Linked DNA regions of Homo sapiens: region 1 is linked to region 2. Evidence: promoter capture Hi-C in 16 types of primary human blood cells and fetal thymus (Javierre and others, 2016). All regions are on one chromosome and are shown on one strand. The core of a region is centred on a gene start or on the middle of the fragment in contact, and the rest is flanking DNA. Distances in the headings are between cores, read along the strand shown.

What was found. The method cuts DNA at HindIII sites, captures the fragments that hold promoters and counts their contacts. A CHiCAGO score of 5 or more calls a contact.
Region 1: a contact is called between a fragment that was not itself captured here and the fragment with the promoter of ACCS in region 2, in 1 of 17 cell types (endothelial precursors). The highest score is 5.5, in endothelial precursors.

The regions. Positions count from the first base shown.
Region 1 is chr11:44,522,535-44,528,598 of GRCh38, forward strand. It overlaps LOC105376646 (a long non-coding RNA gene), which reads right to left and starts at 3,532. Exons shown (of 5, transcript XR_931232.1): 1 at 2,945-3,532; 2 at 1,305-1,504; 3 at 1-74. The HindIII fragment of the contact is 846 bases long and covers 1,107-1,952 here.
Region 2 is chr11:44,061,849-44,067,633 of GRCh38, forward strand. It overlaps ACCS (1-aminocyclopropane-1-carboxylate synthase homolog (inactive)), which reads left to right and starts at 4,422. Exons shown (of 15, transcript NM_032592.4): 1 at 4,422-4,853; 2 at 5,780-5,785. The coding sequence starts at 5,780. RefSeq lists enhancers at 4,062-4,191, 4,292-4,381, 4,402-4,591. The HindIII fragment of the contact is 11,098 bases long and covers 3,626-5,785 here.

The DNA of each region.
Region 1 (6,064 bases), core at 280-2,779, 460 kb after region 2:
TACTATGTGCAAAAGCAATGTTCTAGGCATTGGAATACCTTCATGAACAAGACTGGCAAATATTTTGTCTTCAGCTATAGCCCAGTAGAAAAGACAGGCATGAGACAGAAGTTCAGAGAATAATTAAGGCATGCTATGACAAATCACTTTGCTCACATCTCTGCTCAAATGTCACCTCTTCTGAGTGACCTTTCCGGACCCCCATGTCTAAAATACCACCCCATCAATCTCCATCCCCTTTCCTGATTTTTCAAAAAGTAGGAGTATGAGTATTTGGTACAAGGTTATGCATTTCTTTGTTTTCCTGTCTTCCCCACTAGACAGTGCACACCACGAGGGTGGGAGTTGTGACCCCTTTGTGCTCTGTCTCCAGCACCTGACTTACCATGTGCTCTGAGTAGATACTTACTGAATGAAACATGAATGAATGAATGAATGCTACAAAGAAGATATACAGGTGCTCTGGGAGGAAAAACAGGGAAACCCAGCCTAGCCTGGAGTTCAGGGGGAGGTAACCCCCAAAGCAGGAGCTAACTTCAGACTGAGCTCCAAAGCAGGCCAGGACACTAGAAAAGAGGCAGGAAGTCTGGGCGCGGTGGCTCACGTCAGTAATCCCAGCACTTTGGTAGTCCAAGGTAGGCAGATCACGAGGTCAGGAGTTCAAGACCAGCCTGGCCAATATGGTGAAACCCCGTCTCTACTAAAAATACAAAAAAACTAGCCAGGCATGATGGTGTGCGCCTGTAGTCCTAGCTACTCGGGAGGCTGAGGCAGGAGAATTTCTTGAACCCAGGAGGCGAAGGTTGCAGTGAGCCAAGATTGAGCCACTGCACTCCAGCCTGGGCAATAGAGGAAGACTCCGTATCAAAAAAAAAAAAAAAAAGAAGAAGAAGAAAGAAGAAGAAGAAGAAGAAGAAGAAGAAGGAGAAGGAGAAGGAGAAGGAGAAGGAGAAGGAGAAGGAGAAGGAGAAGGAGAAGGAGAAGGAGAAGAAGAAGAAGAAGAAGAAGAAGAAGAAGAAGAGGCAGGAAGAGCATTTCAGGCAGAGGAACCACAGCATGCGCAGAGCCCAGGATATCGACGATCTACAAAGGTCCCCTATCTGCAAAGCTTCCCCTACAGGACAGTCACAGGCAGCTGCCTTGAGGGCACACCAGGGGGAGCCAGCAAGCCTTTGATGGCACCGCAAAAGAGGCTCCAGATCCTCGGATTAAAATTCTGGCTATGTGATCTTCGGCAAGCTCTTTAACTTCCCTTAGTTAGCCTCTTTTCTCATTTGTAAAATGGAGATGAGAGTGACACCTACCTTGAGGGGTTACTGTAAGGACACAGAATGACAACTTCAAGTTTTTTAGATGAGAGCCTGATCCGTGGTGAGACTTTAACAAATGCTGGTGGCCGGGTGCAGTGGCTCATGCCTGTAATCCCAGCACTTCGGTAGGCCGAGGCAGGAGGATTGCTTGAGGCCAGGAGTCCCAGACAAGCCTAAATAACATGAGATCCTGTCTGTACAAAAAATTGGAAAATTAGCCAGGTGTGGTGGCATATGCCTGTGGTCCCAGCTACTCAGGAGGCTGAAGTAGGAGGTTTGCTTGAAACCAGGAGTTCAAGGCTGCAGCAAGTCATTGATTGTGTCACTGCACTCCAGCCCGGGTGATAGAGTAAGACCCTGTCACTAAAAAAGTTAAAAAAAAAAAAAAAAAAAGCTGGCTATGTTAGCACAGTGCTGCCTCTCCTCACCCACTAGAAAATTTAGGCCAAGGTAATCGGGCTGTCACAGAAGCAATATTCTCAGCTGGCTTTAATCTAGGAACGGTGGGGTGGAAAATAAAAAAGACTCCCAGTCCCTTGAGCAAAGCAGTTGCCTCAGCCTCAGTATCCCCATCTGCTCAAGGAGGCCTCGGCCGGCTTCTCCGTGTGGCCGAGTTTCCCTCTCACGGCCTGTTCCCAGCCAAGCTTCCAGTTCCCTGAGGTTTTCACTTCCTGTCAGAGACCTCAGGGCCTTACACATCCAGGCCTTCACCTCCTGCACGGATATTTTGCACTTTCCACCTTCCCCCAGCCCAGATGTCCTGGAGTCCTGCCTCCCCGGCTCCCTCTGGGCCTGCTCTCTGTCCCTGCCTGGCCACCACCTAGCCAGCAAGCTGTTGGTGTCTCCCCAGGCACGCAGCGCCTGGTGCAGGGGCTACACTGCCCTGAAAACCCCCAGGATACCAAGCACCCCCGAACTCCACCCATCTGTGATGACTTCAGCAGAAAGTCCTGCCCATACTTGTGGAAATTAGTGTGTGTGTGTGTCGGGGGCGGGGGTTGGGGGCTAATCTTAGAGAGGGCCCTATTTGCCCCTCGCTGCACACCACAGGGAAGACATGCTCCAGGTAAGTGCACGTTTTCACACATACTCTCGAGTGCACGTGGGCTCGAAAGGGCTGGAAAAGCTTCCCCCTGGACAGAGCTAGTCTCAGAAACTCAGGACGTGGGAAGGGGGTCACTGAGGGGGAGGCTCTGGCACTGGGCCCAGCACTGTGGTTTCTGATGCTGCCTCAGCCGCCAATTGGAAGGAAGCTTGGGAGGAGGAGGAGGAAGCGCTGAGTGTGCAAATGAGCAGTGACATGGGAAATCTCACAGGGCAGAGGCAGCCTTCAGGATCTACACCAGGACGAGGTGACCTGGTTTCCCCTGGCTTGGTGGCCCTGGAGGAGTCACTGTGCTTCTCTAGGCTGATTCCCTCTTCTGCAAAATGTCAGTCCCAGACAGTAGGCAGCAAAGAGTGGGTAGACCCGAGTCCCAGTCACAGCCAGTCTCCCCGGGATCCTGAGGCTGCAACAGAGGGTGCTCCTCGCTGGGCCTCCATGTCCTCATCTACAAAATGGGGACAGTGACCCTGATCTTGCAGGATTGCCCCAAGGTTGAGAAATGGTGTACACAGAGCATCAGACACACTACCTCTTAGATACATCCCTTCCTCGAGGTGCCTGCCAGGCCCCAAGTGAGATCAAGCCTCCTCTCTAGGGTCTTCCCTCACCGACAGTGGCCTTCACAGCACTGGGTGCTGTCTGAACTTTTATGCATATTCATGGGATGATTTGACAAACGTCCCTTTCCGCACTAGATTGTAAGCTCCTTGAAGGCAGGGATCCCAGCCTGGCACATAGTAGGGGCTTCTCTTAGTCAAGATCCAGCTAGGAAACCAGAACTCAAGTCAGGTATTTCAACAGAGGGCATGTGATATAGGGAGCTAGTTCGGAAGGTGTTGGAGGAGCTGAAAGGCCTGACCGGGGATGGTGAGCCACCCACCGACAAGCAGCGGCAGGCAGCTGTGACAACCTGGGACTCCAGAGACCGGGGAGGAAGTGCCGATACCCAAAGCCTGGGAACCAGACTAGGTGTGGGACACCGGAACCACAGTCAGGCAGGGGGCTGCCCATGGGAGCTGGAACCCTGGCGGTGACCCAACCACTTCCCAAGTTGCCACTAAAGCAGAGAGAAATGAGGAGGAAGACCCTGGCTCCTCCCTTCCGCCCCGCCCGCTGATCTCCATCCAGTTCTTCCCATTGGCCAAGACTAACAGGAAGCCGGCGGGCAAAGGAGCCTGGGAAATATATCAACAGTTGGCAGGAGTCAGCCCCGAGACACAGGGGAGGGCCAGGGAAAAGTAGAGGATCCATCCGTTCGCTTTCTGAGAGGGAAGGACAAATGGCAGTCCCAGGGCTCCCCTTATTTACTGGTTCACAAATGCCTACAGCATTTACGAGGCACACAGGGCAATGTTCTGAGCTTTTGACGAATGAGCAGCAGGAGTTCAGTAAATGATACCCGTCCTTGTTGATGGTGCTTTTGTTTTTGTGGTCAGACGCGTTCCAAGGGGCTCAGACCTGCTGTGATTCTGAGATTTTTCTGTCTCTGACCCCAAGATCCTCACCCCAACCCTGGCCTTTTTGGGCTCAGGGAGCCCAGACCCACCCCCTTCTCCAGGCCCTGCTGAGAGTAGGGGGAGGAAGGGCAGAGGATGCAGCCCCCCGGGCCTGAGCCCCTGCAGAGCCCCTCCATCTCTGCCCCGGGCTCCGTGGGGAGCAGGCTCTCCCTCTCCCCGCCTGTCAGTCAAACCCTGCCGCTTGGAAGTTCAAGCGTGGCCAAAAGGAAGCAGATTTCAAAACACACCTCTGCTCGACCCGCTTTCCTCCCCGCCCCCTCATCCGAGCTGACCCAGGCTCTCTGGGGGCTCCCTTGCCCCAGGCCTATCCCAGACAGAGCTGAAACCATAAGGATCTGGGGTAGACGTCGGGTGGGGTGTGGGGAGCAATAAGGGGAGCCAGCAAAGGCTCCCCCAGCAGCCTCGGCCCACCCCTGTCTGAGGGCTGCTCCTCCTGCGTGGAGAAGAACCTGAGGCAGATCCTCAAGAAGGGCCCTGGGGGCGACAGGTGGGAGGGGCCTGACCCCTGAAATTCAGTAAGGCCGGGGGCCTGCCTGCTACCTTTCCACACTTGGTGTTTTATTTATGATGCCATCCCTGCACTAGCACAAGCCTTGGCTTCTAGAAGATTCTCTGTAAATATCTGTTGAGTGAATGTGTGAATTCGTGAATTCCCACTAAGGAGAAATTGGTTCCACTTTGACTCAGAAGGTGAAGGAAGGTGTGGGGCTGGAGGGGCCCTGATAGTTCCACCAAAACCAGAGCCTCAGGGGCCTCGCTCCTCTGTCATCGCCTCCCTCTGGCTTCCTCTCAGCAAGGGGGTTCGGGTCAGAGCCCTTGGGACCCCATCCCAACCCTGCTGCCTTCTAGCTGTGTGACATTGGACAAGCCAGTCCCTCTTCAAACCTTAGCTTTCCTCACCTATGTCATGGGGAGAGACCTGTCTCCTCCACAGCGTACTGTGAGCCCTGAATTGAACCAGGTCCCACAAATAAATCCTAGTACAGCTCCTGTGTGCAACAAAACAGGCCTCACAGATACCAGCAACCTCACAGATACCAGAATGCACTGGAATGCCTTTCCACAAGGTTGTCAATAGGGTTAAAAGCACGGCCACTGTGAACAAATAGCAAATAGCCATTGCTTCTTGGCAATTTCTTTGCAAAGGCAGATGGAAATGAAGCAATGCCCAGGCGTGGAGGCCGATTTTGGAATGAACGTCTTGACAGTGGGAGTTCACCCTTCCGGGTTGTTTTGCGAGTTTTTTTCTCATCTCCCCTGGTGCCGTCCTCTCAAAGCCCGATCATAAAAGCAACGACAGCTGGGACCACATTGTTCACTTTATTGCAGTTTTGTTTTCCGTTTGGAAAATCTCTCCCTAGAATGTGCTTGAAATTTTGAAGAGGTGAGTTAATATATTGATGATGTCTTTATTGTCAGGACACTTCCTGAATTAGAAATAAAAGGCTCTGCTGAATTCAATCAAGTGGCATGGGGGAAGGGGTCCTTTCCCAGGATGGAAGCCCTCCTTTTGTGGCCAGCCTGGAGGGGGTAGGGGACCAAGCTTTCTGAGGCTCAGAGAAGACTCCTCTAATTCTAGAGCTTGACAGTTGGTGCCCAGTTTCCCCCAAAGGCAAAGGAGAAATCCTTGCCCTCCAGGGAGCAAAGGGCCAGGCAGATGAATGTCCGAGGTGTGGGTCCATTCCTGGCTCCTCCTGGATAGCTCAGCTCCCTACCAGCCCCAGCCTGATCCTCCCCCGGTAACGCACTTCATGTGAGTCACCCGGGAGCATGGTGCGGGACCTCCCTCTGCAAAGCTATGAGGAGACAAACTTTGACCTTGGTGCCCTCTCCACCGTGAGTTCCCCTCCTCTGCTCCACCAGGCCTCACCAGCCTGAGCCCTCATTCTTGAGGCCCCAAAGCCTCTTCCCTGCCACTGCCACTTTCTTACTCTCCTGTCGGAATGCCTCTGATCTTTTGAGTCTGAAGTCTGTGAATCATAAGAAGAGGCAGATGGCACGGTGGACTGCAGAGACCAAGGTCTTGGAATTACACAGATCTAGACTTGAGTCTCCTTAGTCTCTTAGTTGCTGTGTGATGTTGAGCAACTGACTTCGTCTCTCTCTGTGCTCAGTTTCCTCTGCAGTGATGG
Region 2 (5,785 bases), core at 3,172-5,671:
CTTAGTAGCATTGAGTGCAATCTTCTGCTCTTGAGTATAACGTTACTGTATTTTTCATTCTGTCCCTTATCTAATAAAGAGTCCTTCTATTACTAGTTTGCTGGGAGTTTTACCATGTATGAGGGTTCAATGTTGTTAGATGTTTTTCATCTGCATTTATAGAGATATGATTTTTCTCTTGATTATCAATGTAGTAAGTTACATTGATTTCTTAATGTTAAAGCAACTTCACATTGCTGCAATAAACCCCATTTGGTCATGATGCATTGTCCTTTTATATACCATTGAGTTTGGTTTGCTATTTTAAGAAGTTTACATTCAAGAAGGACATCATTCTATAATTTTTTTTTTTGTAATGCATTGTTAGTTTCAGTATCATGATTAATACTGGTTTCATAGATGTTTGGGAAACTGTTCCTTCCTGAATTTTCTAGAAGTTTGTGTCCAAAAACTTCTTCAACCTTTAAATATTTGGTTGAATTCAGCTGTAAAACCATAAGGGCCTGGAGGTTTTTTTTTTCTTCTTTTTTTTTTTTTGTGGGACGGCTTTTACTTATAAATTCAATTTCTGTGACAGTTCGAGTTTTCTATTTCTTGTATCAGATTTGGTTATTTGTGCCTTTCAATAAAGTTTGTCTATTTCATCTAAGTTTAATTATTGACTTAAAATTGGTTATAAATATTCTGTTATCCTTTTAATACATTTAGGATCTTTAGTTGTATCTCCTTTTCCTTTCCTGATACTGAAATTGATACATGCAGGAGGGGGATTACGGGGAGGGTCTCCGGAGAATCTCCAACCCATCTGTGCACTGGGAGAACAAGATGGAGCCAAGGGAAGCTGTGGCCATGCTCAGCGGGGAGGAGCCTGGCCTCTTCAATTTCTGTGTGGTGGCCTGGGATTCAATGTGAGTTTGGAGGCCTGTTAGCAGGACCCCCTCTTGCTCTGCTGACAGTATTTTTCTTTTTTCCTTTTTGCCCAGTAAATTCCGTTCCCCTCACCCTTCAATGTGTCCATGTTCCTAATCCTTCCTGGTGGTGTGACAAGAACCCGGTTTTAGCTGAACTAAGGAGCAAAATTCTGCAACAAAATGAGTTTTTTTGATCAGTCAATCTAACTGTTTATCAACTGTATTGAACTTTTCAAAGAACCAACTTTCAGTTTCATTGATTTTTCTCGTTTCGCCTTCATTTCTGCTCTTATCTTTATTTCTTTCTATTTACTTTGGGTTTAATTTGCTCTTTTTTCTAGCTTATTAATGTGGAAGCTTAGATCATTTGTTTTAAGTTGGTTTCAAATATATGCATTACAAGCTATTCATTTCTCACTTAGCATTATTTTAGCTACATTCCATAAACTTTGATCTGCTGGTTTTTAATCATTCAAAATATTTTCTAATTTCCCTTGTGATTTCTTTTTTTAAATCAATGGTTTGCTTAGCATATGTAACTTAGTTTCCAAATATTTGGGGACTGTTCAGCTTTCTTTGTTAATGATTTCTACTTTAATTTCATTGTGACTAGAGAATGTACTCTATGGTTTCAATCCTTTGAAACTTATTAAGACAGTTTATGGCCAGATTTGTTTACAACATGTGGTCTATCTTAATGTTTCATTTGCACTTGAAAAGAAGTATATTCTGTGGTATTGGGGATGGTGTTCTATAAATGTCAATTAGATTAAATTTTTGTATAATGTCCAAAAGTTCTGATCCTTAGTGTCTTTTGATCCATTTGTTCTATCACCGAGAGAGTGGTATAAAATTTTCCAATTATTATGAACTTGTCTTTTCTCTTTTTCGTTCTGTCAGTTTCTGCTTCATGTATTTTGAAGCTTTGTTATTACGAGCATAAACTTTTAAGATTGTCACCCTGATAAATTAATCATTTTATTCTAAAATGCCCCATTTTATTTTTGTTAATTATTTTTGTCTTGAAGCCTACTATCAGATACCAATATGAACACATCAGCTTTTTTCATGATTATTATTTGCTTGTTTTTTTTCACATTTTTACCTTTGACCATTTGTTTTTGTATTTAAAGTGTGTCTCCTGCACACACCATATGCTTGATTCTTGCTGTTTTATCCAGTCTGATGATCTTTTAATTGATCTTTAGTCAATTCACATTTAATGTAACGTGTGTGTATGTCTTCCACTTAGGACAAGTGCCTGTGTTTGTTGTTTCGTGGGGTTAAATCCCCCTGCTGCATGTTTCCATGGTACCCAGTAAATAGTCTTTTTAAAATAGTCCCCACATTGTAAGTCGGCCTTCCCAATCAATCATGCAGGCTTTGGTTTGTCTTGCTCATCACCGTATCCTCGCATTTTACAGAGACCTGGCACATAACAGGCATTCACTGAGATGTGAATTACATAGAATTAAGATTTAAATAGAGGAAAATAATCGCTTCCTTATCTTACAGAAGAAAACAGTAAGGGCCAAAAAAGTCATGAGAGTTGCTCAAGGTCACAGTGTTAGCTAGTGCAAGGCAAAAGTGAAGACAAGAAGTGGAATGGCCAGAAGACAGCCATGTCTTCCCAGCCATACCTGTATTGAGAGATTCTGCTTATTTCCTTTCATGGGGAAAGAAGACTTTCCCATTCAAGGCACCTCAGAGACTGCAGCTCTACCTGGGACCTGGGTGCCCACTGTACCCATTGCCAGAATATGTAGAGCTTAGGGCAGAGTTTGAAAAATACTTTTGAAATTATATGTGTGTGTGTGTGTGTGTGTGTGTGTGTGTGTGTGTATGTAATTTTTTTTTTTTTTTTTTTTTTTTTTTAGATAGAGTCTCGCAAACACCCAGGTGGGAGTGCAGTGGCACGATCAAATTCACTGCAGCCTCTACCTTCTGGGCTCAAGTGATCCTCCCACCTCAGCCTCCCAAGTAGCTGAAACCACAGGCACATGTCATCAAGTCTGGCTAATTTACAAAAACATTTTGGCTGAGTGCAGTGGCTCACGCCTGCCATCCCAGCACTTGGGAGGCCGAGGCGGGCAGATCACGAGGTCAGGAGTTCAAGACCAGTCGGGACAATATGGTGAAACTCCATCTCTACTAAAAATACAAAAATTAGCCAGGCGTGGTGGTGCGTGCCTGTAGTCCCAGCTACTGGGGAGGCTGAGACAAAAGAATTGCTTGAACCCGGGAGGCGGAGGTTGCAGTGAGCAGAGATTGTGCCACTGCACTCCAGCCTGGATGACAGAGCGAGACTCCGTCTCAAAAAAACAAAAAAACATAAAAACCTTTTTTTGGTAGAGACACGGTCTCTCTATGTTGCCCAGGCTGGTTTCAAACTCCTGGGTTCAAGGGATGCTCCCACCTTGTCCTCTCAAAGTGTTGGCATTACAGGCGTGGGCCGCCACACCTAGCCAGAGTTCAACAAATATTGCAGGCACGTGTGGGAGACCAGGACATGCCTCCCCAAAACATGAAGGATTGTGCTAAAGACAAGCAGCAGCACATTCAGGAAAGCTCTCTACCCTGGCCCTATTTGCCTAAAAGTAGGACACAGGTTTACAAAGACAAAAGGTATCCTGTCCCTCTGTCTACCTAGGAGAACAAAGACAACTTTAGACCCCTATGGCCTGGAGATGGTACCAGAGGAATTTACATTAACAAGCTTGACTAACTGGCCTTTGTCTTTTTTTTTTTTTTTTTTTTTTGCCTTCTCACAAGTTGCCTCCTGGAGAGACTCAAAGCCCTATTTCTTTGTCTTGTAACTTAAAAAAATTACTGTTCTTTGTTGAAGATGCTATAAAAACTGGAATTCAAAGTCACCTCTTCCAGAACGACTCATTCCCTCCAGATTTCTCATGTATAAATGAAATACACATGTCAGTAAATTTCTGTCTGTTTTTCTCTTGTTAATTTGTCTTTTGTAACAGGAGTCTCCCCCAACTAAGAACCTATGAGGGCTACAGAAAATCCCCTACAAATGAAAGGGGCAGAAATGACAAACTGCGATGAAAGGCCATAAGGATGCTCACACCCGAATCTAAAAAGCCCTTTGTGTGGGCCGCAGCCAAGCATACTTTGGCAAGAAATTTCTGTGGCTCTAACCTCCTTTGAAAACTGGAGAACCAAGGCCAGGAGGCAGAAGGAGGTGGCAGACCCGGCCCGGCGGCGGCCCAGCACGCGCAGGCCACCCAGAGTGGAGGTGGGAAACGGCATTACGCCCCTTTCCCTTTTCCTGGTCCCGCGGTGCTACCTCGTGTGCCACCCTTAAAGCGTAGTCCCCGCCGAGACCGCCCCCGCCTGAGTGGCAAGGGGACGAACTGCGCCCTGAACAGGCCTGGAAGCCCAACCCGGTGCGGACCGCCCTCAGTCTCCTAGTCCGGGCGCGCTGAGCGCAGGGGGGCGCTGTCCTCACCCACGCGTAAGTCGCCGCAGGGCGTTTCCGGGCGGAGAAAACCTACACGTGATGGGCGCCCACCGAGTGCCAGCACCGCCTCCTCCAGCTCCGCCAAGTAGGTGGGATCCACTACTTTGCAGAGGAGGAAGCCGTTCAGGCCTCCCTCTGTGCACTTTGCAAAAGCCTCTGCCCTTCCATCTCGAATCCCTTGGCGCCGATCACACTTCCTCTGCCTGGAAACCTGGAGCCGTCTCTCGCGAGACGTCCTCCGCCCTGTAGAAGGCCGTTTCGGTTCTTCGTGCGCGGTAGCCGCCCCACTTGCGGGATTCCAAGGCCTCATCGAGTGCGGGTATCTGGCTGTGGATTCGCCGCCGTCCTGCTGGACGCCTGGAGGCTCGAACCCCGCCGCCCCCCTACCCCAGGCTTTACTCCCACCCCGGCTTCCGCCCACTGTGCTGCCCTTCCTCGGACCTGGGCTGTCGGGAGAGCTGGAGGTGAGCGCTCTTGGGAGAGCCCAGCCAATTTAAAGAGTACCCCTGAGAAGACTTTGCGGAGGAAAATTTAACTGCGGGTACCCGCTGAGTTTATGGTGCGCCCAGTGTTACCAGAGCTTGTGTTGTGCATCAGGACTGGGAAAATTGGCAAGGAGTTACGCTATAATGACTCATATTTTATTGAACTTTGGTCATCAGCCAGGATTTGTTCTAAGTACTTTATTGTCACTAACATATATATTTATGTCTTCACGGCCACCCCGAGGTGGTTACTGTTATATCCACTGTGCAGATGAGGAAACTAAACTGGCTTAGAGAAGTGAAGGAGTTCACACCCGCGGGCAGGAGTAGACCACCCTCTCCTTGGTGTCCACACCTCGTTTCTTCAGGACTGAAGAGGCAGGCCCTGGAGCTCTGCCTGGGTTGCCTGCACTTGTGGAGGTTCCCATTCCTCCCTTCCCTCAGTTCCTACCCGCCATCTGCCTCAGAACACCACATAATCTCATCCTACCCTTTACACCACAAGACCCCCAGGACTCCCAGGCAATACTCTGCTTTAACTCAGGAAATTTTAACCTGGCATTTGGTAATTGAGGTGAGCAAGGGTGGAAAAAGAATGTTGATGACCCCTTAGGCTGGAGAGTGAAAAACTTTTGCAGAAGTAGAACACGCTAAAGCAGCAATACATTAAAGTCACGTCAATGTGGCAAGTGCAGTCCCTGGCACGTACTAGGTCCTTAACAGATTTTTCTTGTTGAAGTCGTTGCACATATGGTTACAGCTAAGGGACACAGGAAGTGATGAGTGCATAAACCTAAAGGAAGGGGCAGATAAGAGAAAGGGGACTCCCATGACTCCAACTCCTTTCTGATGCTTGGTGCTATGGAAATCCCTTGAGCAGGCCTGTGCGTTTTGTCTTTTTGCAGATGTTC